3 separate regions of the Homo sapiens genome follow, and all the other regions are linked to region 3. Evidence: promoter capture Hi-C in 16 types of primary human blood cells and fetal thymus (Javierre and others, 2016). All regions are on one chromosome and are shown on one strand. Each heading gives the region's core, a stretch centred on a gene start or on the middle of the fragment in contact. The rest is flanking DNA. Distances are from core to core; before and after follow the strand shown. Region 1 overlaps ZNF283 (zinc finger protein 283). Region 2 overlaps ZNF283 (zinc finger protein 283). Region 3 holds the start of ZNF225 (zinc finger protein 225).

Evidence for each region. The method cuts DNA at HindIII sites, captures the fragments that hold promoters and counts their contacts. A CHiCAGO score of 5 or more calls a contact.
Region 1: a contact is called between a fragment that was not itself captured here and the fragment with the promoter of ZNF225 in region 3, in 14 of 17 cell types (monocytes, activated CD4 T cells, non-activated CD4 T cells and 11 more). The highest score is 10.2, in monocytes.
Region 2: a fragment that was not itself captured here is called in contact with the fragment with the promoter of ZNF225 in region 3 in 16 of 17 cell types (M2 macrophages, naive CD8 T cells, non-activated CD4 T cells and 13 more); the score reaches 10.8 in M2 macrophages.

The regions. Positions count from the first base shown.
Region 1 is chr19:43,831,792-43,835,090 of GRCh38, forward strand. It overlaps ZNF283 (zinc finger protein 283), which reads left to right. Exons shown (of 7, transcript NM_181845.2): 4 at 1,714-1,835. The coding sequence starts at 1,714. Among named protein-coding and RNA genes, the nearest start is that of ZNF283, 6.1 kb to the left of the region's middle. The HindIII fragment of the contact is 7,984 bases long and covers 1-3,299 here.
Region 2 is chr19:43,849,123-43,852,659 of GRCh38, forward strand. It overlaps ZNF283 (zinc finger protein 283), which reads left to right. Exons shown (of 7, transcript NM_181845.2): 7 at 1-2,895. Among named protein-coding and RNA genes, the nearest start is that of ZNF283, 24 kb to the left of the region's middle. The HindIII fragment of the contact is 1,386 bases long and covers 825-2,210 here.
Region 3 is chr19:44,111,869-44,114,988 of GRCh38, forward strand. It overlaps ZNF225 (zinc finger protein 225), which reads left to right and starts at 1,531. Exons shown (of 5, transcript NM_013362.4): 1 at 1,531-1,701. It overlaps ZNF225-AS1 (ZNF225 and ZNF224 antisense RNA 1), which reads right to left and starts at 1,315. Exons shown (of 2, transcript NR_033341.1): 1 at 954-1,315. RefSeq lists a silencer at 1,242-1,592 and an enhancer at 1,285-1,984. The HindIII fragment of the contact is 4,811 bases long and covers 734-3,120 here.

The DNA.
Region 1 (3,299 bases), core at 530-3,029, 280 kb before region 3:
TAATTTTTCATGTTTTTGATAGAGATGGGGTTTCACCATGTTGCCCAGGCTGGTCTTGAACTCCTGAGCTCAAGCAATCCGCCTCCTTTGGCCTTCCAAAGTGCTGGAATTACAGGCGTGAGCCACCACACCCAGCACTTTGGAATATTTTTATTTAAATCCTTTTTCCTTTGAGCCTATGGGTCTGTTTTTTTTTTCTTTTTTTCTGCAGAATAAAATTATAGTAATTGGTGATGTAAATGAATTGAAGACTCTTTAGTTCTTAGTTTGAAAAAAAAATCCAACCCAGTTCTAGGTTTTATGTTAATCTTGAATATTTAGGGAGAAGAGGGAAGTACTAGTGATTCCCTTATTTGAAAACCTTCAAATATTTACAACTTCTGGGATTATAGAAATGTCATTTAAAAATGAATTACCAGGCAAAAAAGAGTTTTAGAATTAGATTATTTTAAAGGTTACCTCTACAGACAATGGCAATAATCTCCAATATACAGCCATCTTACAAAAAATACATTTTACAGATAATATTTCCAAGGACAGGTGTAAATACCAGGAGGTAGAATAAGAAGGTTCTTGTTGTAAATGTTTAAGTAAACCACCAATTTGTACAGAAGACTGAGCCTTTGGTTAAGTTCTCAGCTTTATACCTAATCAGGTTGTATTTTCTGATGCAGCTTAATGATGCTGAATCTCTATGTAACTTCTGGGAGGAAGGGGTATTTTCCTCTATATGTTTCTGAGAACCTGTTTTGCTCACATTGTTATTTAGGAAGAATAGCAGACTCAAGGTTGACCTGTGAAATTTGAGTTCACGTTATAAGAAAGCAGGTCTGAGAAAGACACATTTTACTGTGAGCAAAATAGAGTAGCCTTAAGTTTCTTTGGCATAACAGGATAAGGGACAGTAACATTCTTCATTTTCAATAATAATGATGAAAATGTGGCCAAGCCTGGTGGCTTGCACCTGTAATCCCAGCACTTTGGGAGGTCAAGGCAGGAGGATTCCTTGAGCTCAGGAGTTCGAGACCAGCCTGGACAACACAGTGAGACCCTTTCTTTACAAACAATTTTAAAGAAGAATCATTAGTCGGGCAAGGTGGCGTGCACCTGTGGTTCTAGCTACTGGGGATGGAGGCTGAGGTAGGAGGATCACTTGAGCCCAGGAGGTTGAGGCTGCAGTGAGCTGTGTTTGTGTCACTACACTCCAGCCTAGGCAACAGAGCAAGACCCTGTCTCTGAAAAAAAAAAAAAAAAAAAAAGACAACTTATAAACAATTATCATATACCATTCAGTATTTTGTATGGATTTCTTACTTACTCTTCTATGGTAGACACTGTTCTCACCCGTCTTACTGATGAGGAAACAGAGGTATTGAGAAATGGATAACTATCAAGCTCAAATTCACATCCTAAAGCTCTCACACCAGAACTTTTATCTTAATTTCAATAGAATATGCCTCCCACATTATGTTAGTTACAAACCGGCCTGCCTAAGGAATTGATCATGCATGTCTTTCTTCATCAATTAATATGAACCAACACCATCATAACTAATGAGGATATGGTGGGCCATAATTTATTAAACCTTTTGCTTACTATTACGTAGTTTCTCATTTTTGGTTACCAGAAATTATTTTTGGTTGAGTACCCTTGTGTATTCATCTTGTGTGTTTCTTTCTTCTTTACCTATTTCTTTTTTTTTTTTTTTTTCAGATGGAGTCTCGCTCTGTCGCCCAGGCTGGAGTGCAGTGGTGCGATCTTGGCTCACTGCAAGCTCCGCCTCCTGGGTTCACGCTATTCTCCTGCCTCAGCCTCCTGAGTAGCTGGGACTACAGGTGCCCGCCACCACACCCAGCTAATTTTTTTTGTAGTTTTAGTAGAGACGGGGTTTCACCATGTTAGGATGGTCTCGATCTCCTGACCTCGTGATCCACCCACCTCGGCTTCTCAAAGTGCTGGGATTACAGGCATGAGCCGCCGTGCCTGGCCCTTCTTTACCTATTTCTTAAGGATACATTTCTAGAAGTGAAGTTTTGGGTAAAGAATTTGCCCCAAATGCCTGACCCTGTGATACTTGTACTTAGCGGGTAATACAGTGTTTGGAAGACATAGTTGTTACCTTGGAGACCAAATATGCCTTGGGGTAAGCATAAGGCAGCCAGCAGTCAGCAACAAAGGCCAGTAGGCAATCCAGGGGACCTGCTTTAGGAACTCATAGGAAGGCAGTTATAAGCAATACCGTTGAACCATGATCAAGCATTTGGAGGCAAATGGAATTTATTCTGTAAGGTTTATACTTTATAGTTTTTATTCTACTAATGTTGGTTGCAAAGTGAGCCTAATAGGATCAGGTGATTCAGTTATCTGGATTCAGTTATCTGGAGAGTACCATGTCTAAGACAGGTTCAGATACAAAATAAATCCATCAGTCAAGATAAGAAAAGTAGAATCAAAACCTCATTAATGGAAGGGGAACAAAAAAATAAATAAAACCTCCCCTCAAAAAATGAAAAAAAAGGATGAAATTCCTCAACTTAGGCCATGAATATATTAATATCATTTCATTAATATTATTCCATTAGTATTATTCCATTAATATATACATGGCATAACTTGGGGAATTTCATCCTTTTTTTTTCTAGGCAAGACATAGGCATATGTAGAAATTATACAGTTCATGTAATGTATGGCCATGGTTACAATGATTGTGTGGATTACCTAAACAGAAAACATTATGATCATAATGAAAAGATAAATGTTATTAATATATATAGATATATAATTTTATTTTTTATTTTTTATTTTATTTATTTATTTTTTTCGAGATGGAGTCTTGCTCTGTCACCCAGGCTGGAGTGCAGCAGCGCGATCTCGGCTCACTGCCAGCTCTGCCTCCCGGGTTCACGCCATTCTCCTGCCTCAGCCTCCTGAGTAGCTGGGACTACAGGCGCCTGCCACCACGCCTGGCTAATTTTTTGTATTTTTGTAGAGACGGGGTTTCACCGTGTTAGCCAGGATGGTCTCGATCTCCTGACCTCATAATCCACCCACCTCAGCCTCCCAAAGTGCTGGGATCATAGGCCTGAGCCACCTCACCTGGCCTGTTTCTTTCTTGAGATGTATAACTTTCTAAACATTTTTTCATCTATTGATGTGATTGTCAGTCTTTCTGTATTGATATATATGTATTTTATAAATGTAATCATAAGTCTCATAACCTCCTTTTTCTATTGAGTATATCTTGATTATTTCCCTAAGTTAGCATGTACTCATTGCATGATGTTCTGCGTCATGAATAT
Region 2 (3,537 bases), core at 268-2,767, 260 kb before region 3:
TCCAAATGAGAAATCATTTGAATTAGAATTATAGGAAGGCCTTTAGACAAATGCTACCCAAATTATTATCCAGAGACTGGTGCAGTCATAAAATTGTCATCTGTCAATTGTGAGATAAACGTGGAAAGTGAGTAAATATTTGGAACTTTTATAGCAATTTGACATTTCCATAACATTCTGTTTTACAAAATTATCAGTCCATAAATGATTGAGAATTGAAAACAAAGTTTGTTCTTTCCCAGAAATAATTTGAGACAAGACTCACACTTTTCAAGACATGAGACAAGTGACAATTTAAATAAGAAATTCTTCACTTGCACCTCTCTGATTAGAATAGCAGAATATTCATACTATAGCAAGATTTGGCAAATGAGGGAATCAAAATTTTCTAATGCCTGTAACAGCATAAGATAATTTATACCAGATATGTTAAATGTGCAGAAGCCTTCCAACACTATTCAGTCTTTGTTAAACTTCAGTAAGTTCATCCTAGAGAGTAACTCTGTTAATGTAACAAATGTAGGAAAACCCTTATCCATGGCAAATACCATACTGTCATCACCATTTCACCTCCATACTACCTGTAGGATGGTGAGCAAAATGCTTATCTCTTCTGGACATGATGTTTCAAATGCTGATGGTAACTAATAATGCTGTTACAGAGATTAGATGGATTTAGTATGCATCATATCCTTGGAAGAGTATCTGGTATGTAGCCTATGCTTAATACATATTAGCTATTGTTCATATTGTCTTTATTATTAGTATTACTACTGGTGAATTCTTAGGAGAGGCACAACCGTTTTGAGGAATGAATTCAGAAAAGCTTCCCATAACCACTCATCCATTTGAATTTCAGATAGTTCATTCTGGATAAGATCTAGTACAGTATAAAGAATTTGAGGGGATTTTAATTCAGAGTTTATCCCTTAAGCTGAGCTAAAAAAATGAGACTTGAAAAAATCCAGACTTTTGAAGAGTTTAGGAAAGCTGTTTTATAGAATGTCACACATTAGTTTCATTCCTCATGGTGAAATTTGATATGGGCCTCTCCTTCACATTTCTCGTAACATGAAGTTGGAAATAGAGGCTTAAACATTTTTTACCAGAACACTTCATAGATGGTGATGTGTACTTCATCTTGCAATACCTCAGAAGCAGATAGTATCCATTTCCCCCAGTATCACCAGTGCCAAGTTTGATCACTTATGGTAACTACTGGAGTTGTCTGTTATAAAGATCCATTATATACCTAATAGGATTGGTCAGCCTTGATCAATGATCTTTGGAAATGTGTGATCATATGGTATGTATTTTACTTTTTTTTTTTTTTGGGACAGGATCTCTCTTTCTGTCACCAAGGCTGGAGTGCAGTGGTGTGATTTCGGCTCACTGCAACCTGCACCTCTCGGGTTCAAGTGATTCTCGTGCCTCAGCCTCCCAAGTAGCTGGATACACAGGTGTGCACCACCATACTGGCTAATTCTTGTATTTTTAGTAGAGATGGGGTTTTGCCATGTTGGTCCAGGCTGATCTTGAACTCCTGCACCTGCCTCAGCCTCCCAAAGTGTTGGGATTACAGGTGTGAGACACTGCGCCTGGCTATATTTTACTATTTGGAAATCACAATGCATCTTAAAATTGATGGCTTCTTGCAACCACTTTCAACCAGGTGCCTGTCATGATTTAGTGCTAGCATCAAGGCAGGTTAGTTATGAAGAAATAGAGTGTGTGTTTATATACTCACACAGTTAGAAATCGACCCTTTTAAAAATTATTTCTTTTTGAAAATAATGTCAGTTCCATCAGAACTAATGCATTGATAACTAAATGTCTGTGGTTCCTTGTCATAGGTCTACACCTGACCTCTCTATTTTGTGCACATAGGGGATTCGTAATATCACTGTTCAGTCAGTCATTCACCATCTAGTGATCATCATTCTACATGATTGCACTTTTTCAAAGGCATAAAAAGCCAACAGTTGCACTCTTAATAATCAACTGTAACACAAAGCAGAGTACTTTGGGAGTTTTAACAGGATATATTATTGGTAACTGGCTATTATGCCACTCCCTCTGGGTGCCACATTTGCCTGTTAACCAAGAAATGTAGACATGGTGCCTTATCCCAACATTTCTGAAATTATATCTCAAGGAATCACCAGTGCTTACTAGTACTTGACAATGAAGGAGGATTTTACAGTTAAAGAAGCTTATAAAGTAGCATCTACTAAATCCCCTCCTAAGGAACAAGCAAAAGCACCTCACCAGCTTATCAAAAGACTAAAGAGAAGTGAAAAAAAAAAAAAGACGGCCGGGCGCGGTGGCTCATGCCTGTAATCCCAGAACTTTGGGAAGCCGAGGCGGGCGGATCACGAGGTCAGGAGATCAAGACCATCCTGGCTAACACGGTGAAACCCCGTCTCTACTAAAAATAGAAAAAATTAGCCGGGCGTGGTGGCGGGCGCCTGTGGTCCCAGCTACTCGGGGAGGCTGAGGCAGGAGAATGGCGTGAACCCGGGAGGCAGAGCTTGCAGTGAGCCGAGATTGCGCCACTGCACTCCAGCCTGGGCGACAGAGCGAGACTCCGTCTCAAAAAAATAAAAATAAAAAAAGACTAAGGAGTATTCTAGTGAAGAAAATGGTTGAACTTTGTTTAAACTGGTGTATGGCAAACTTCACTGTTGAAATACTTATTCCCATGACCTATTATCTTTGTAGGTGGGTGAAATTGCATTGGGAACTGCTGCTATAACCAAAAGAGAATTTCAGTCACCATGTCTGGTTGTTAGCTATGATGGAATGGCAGCATCATGGTCTCAGTTATGAGTGAAAATCTTTGTTGTAGCTAAGTAGTGGTGCCTCCTGAGTTTTATTAAATGCCGTTTCACTATCTTTTTCTGCACTTCTATAGTATTTAATTTGTTCATGTGATAATTTATTCTGATAGATTCACTGACTTTTTCCCATTCCTGGATATTCCAGGTTAGTCATAGTATCCTTCTGATGCATTGCTTGATTTCATTTTGCCATTTTATTTAGTATTTTTGCATCTCATGAGTGAGATTATATAATAGTTTTCTTTTTTATTGTATTTTTGTTTGTTTTGGTATTGCAATAGCCTGTTTTTTAATATTGTATGATCCTATTAGGTTATTTTGTTTGATCCTTGACCACTTTTCTAGTTCCATCTGTTGCATTTTTTTTTGTCTTTTAATTCCTACTTCAGACATAACAGATTTATTGAGTGTTAGCACAGTTCCTTTAAGGAGCCTTCATAGCCATGTAGTACTAGCCAAGATCCGCATAAAAGACGCATCCCAGCATGGCCCCTAAAATCCTTCATTATGTGCTCTTAAGAATAATGTGTTGGGAAGTCAGAACTTCCTTATAGGGCTGTTATGATCATACTTGTACATGTCTTTTGGAGCACACGTGTACACATTTCTTTCTGTATATACTGGGAGTGGAATTGCTGGGGTGTGGTCATGGATACACATCTGTTCAACTTTTTAGTAAGTTTAAATTCTTCTGAAC
Region 3 (3,120 bases), core at 281-2,780:
GCAGCTACTTTGTCTGAGGTTTAAACCCGGGGTTCGTCGTTAAGCGCCAGAAAAATTTAGGACACGGACACACAAAAACTCCTCAGTTTAGGAGCGGAGGTTTAATAGGAAGAAGAGAAAGAGAAACGGGTTCCTCCATAGAGGAAGGGGTCTCCGAGCGGAAAAGGGTCGGCTGGCAGTGAATGTGCTGAGTTTTACAGACCAGTTTGAGGAGGCAGTGTCTGATTTACATAGGGGTCATAGATTGGTTCGATCAGTTATGACGTTTACATAGTGCGTGGGGAAGGCTGGTCGCCCCACCCTAATCTTCTTATGCAAATAGGCTTCCCAGTTGATTGGCCCATCTTGCCAGCTTCTTACTGTGCACGTGGCTGACAAAGAGAAGGGAAGATGGAGCCGCCATCTTTAACATGATTGGCACAACTGCTGGTATCTATGTCTGCGGCAGCTGGATTTTACAGGCTGCTCTTCCTTAGGAAGGGAAATAATTTGGGGCTGCTTTTCATTAAAAAGAAAAGCCTTACCGAGGGCTCCCATACCCTATCTGCCTAAGTGATGGCTTCTTAACTCGTATATATTAACAACACTGTATTCGTACTAGATGCCATTGCCATTGAATTATGTGCCTTAAAATAATTTTGTTTTGTGAATTACACCTCAAAAATATTTTTTAAATAATAAAACGACCACGTTAAAAACGTTTTGCATAGCGAAAAACAAGTCAAAGGAAAAAAGCTTTTTGGTTGAGCAATATTTGATACAATGTTAATATGAGTATGTAAATAATACTTAACGGAGGGGAAAAAACTAAACACTCAATAGAAATGTGGGCAAACTATTTGACCAATTCACAAAGACTATAATAGTGGCAACGGAAAATATGCACGGATGTTCCACTTTATTTACAAAAGAACAAATACAAATTAAAACTACATTTAGAAACCATTTCTTACCATTAGATTAGCAAAACTTAACTCCTCGAAGACTGTGTCTTCTCGCTTGTTCCCTTTCCAATAACACTCCTGTTATCATTGGAGGCGTTTAGACTTCAGAAATTCCTGTCTATTCAGTATTTTCTGTCCTGGACCAGGGAGAGAGAAGGACGACTCTCAGGATAACAGTTCACATTCCCCACTAGGCAGGCGCTCGTGGCTTTGGGATTCGTTCCCAGTGGGCACCTCGGAGTGGCAACGCTTCCCCCTGAAGAATGAGATTTTGAGCGTTTTTCCTTCAGCATTCGGAGGAGTGTAATCCAAATGCTCTGTGGAGTCGTACACACTGGCTCCAGAAGGAGGATACAAGCAATTCTGGGAATGGTAGTCCAGACGCTCAGTGGAGTAGCGGTCAGCTTGGCTCCGGCAGGCGAATCAGGGGATTTCTGGGAAATGTAGTCCAGACGCTCAGTGGAGTCTCGGTCAATTTGACTCCGGCAGGTGGATCCCAGGGAATTCTGGGAAGTGTAGTCCAGACGCTCGGGGTCGTCGCGGTCAGTTTGTCTCAGGAATTCTGGGAAGTGGAGTCCAGACACTCAGTGGAGTAGCGGGCCACTTCCGCTCCGTTACTGTGAGGTTGCTGCAGTTTTGTCCCTGGTAGTTTGGGTCAGTTCCGCGAGACCCTTCTGAATTTCCTGGACCTACGCATTGGATCCTTAACGAACTGGTGATCGAATTAGGGGAAAAGAAACCTCGTCGGAGAGCAGAGGTTTGGCGGAGCGGGGCCGCTGTTTTCGTTCTCGTCAGTGGAGCCTTCTTGGGCTTGGGGCTCTCCTCGCGTCCCCGGGGTGTTTGGGACTTGGTCGGGTCGCGTCTCGCCTGGTTTTAGGGTCTCCGGGGCTCTGAGCTCGCCCACTCGGCCTCCCTGCACCCCACGCGCGTGGCCACTTCCTCGCGATAAAACGCTGGGATGTTACTTAATCTCCTTGGGTCTCCCGTTACAGTTCTTTAAGATGGGGAGTTTAGGACCATCCTAATAGAATCGTTTTGGGAACTGAAAGCGGTAACACAAATGAGAGCCTTAAAGCAGCCCCTGTCACTTGGTGACTGGTGGTCTCTTGTTAATTTCCCACGAAGCCTGTCAGGTCCCCGGGTGGGGTGAAACTCCAGCTGCAGGGGCACCGGCCCTTCTCCCTGATTCCTGCAAGACGCTGGGTGATCCCGGACGCCTTCTGACCTCTCTTTTAGGAAGGCGAGGGTTGCATCCACTTCCAGGAGGGGAGAGGAGCATTTAACTTTTATGGGGCACGGCGACCACGGTCAGAGTGTTTCACAGCCTTCTCCTTACCCAGCCCGACCTTTCCAAAAGAGCTGCAGGGAGGGACTTCTTGGCTTCTGAGGGCAAAGCTCTACGTGAGTGATCCTTGGCTTTTTTCTTTGACAGAGATGCTCACCCCAACCGAGAGTGTATAGGATGTGTCTTCGGGCATGGGTGTTGCTTTCAGTTGTCATGTTTTTCTAGTCTTTAATCTTGAAAGATAGCATAGCTTTCATCGTTTTTTCTTGGTATTTTATCCTTGTTATTTTTGAAGAGTATAGATGAAGTTATTTTGGTCAAAGATGTTCATTTGGAGTTTTTCTGATGTATTTCACGTTTAACTTCAAAATATGCATTTTTTGCTGGAATACCACAGAAGTGGTAAATCTCTCTCTCTCTTTTTTTTTCTTGAGACGGAGTTTCGCTCTTGTCGCCCAGGCTGTAGTGCATGGCACGATCTCAGCTCATTGCAACATCCACCTCCTGGGTTCAAGCTATTCTCCTGCCTCAGCCTCCCAAGTAGCTGGGATTACAGGTGCCTGCCACCACATCCGGCTAATTTTTGTATTTTTAGTAGAGAAGGGATTTCACCATGTTGGCCAGGCTGGTCTCAGACTCCTGACCTCAGGTGATTCAACCGCCTTGGCCTCCCAAAGTGTGGGATTACAGGCATGAGCCACCGTGCCCAGCCTGAAGTGGTAAATTTCTTATTGCAACATAACAGGGGCCATATGTCAGTTTGTCACTTCATTGGTGATCTCAACTTTGTTCACTTGGCTAAAGTCATGTTTGTCAGATTTCCGCATTGTAAAATTATTTTGAATTTTTTTTTTTACCCCAGGAACACAGATTCAAGTTGCTCTCAATATA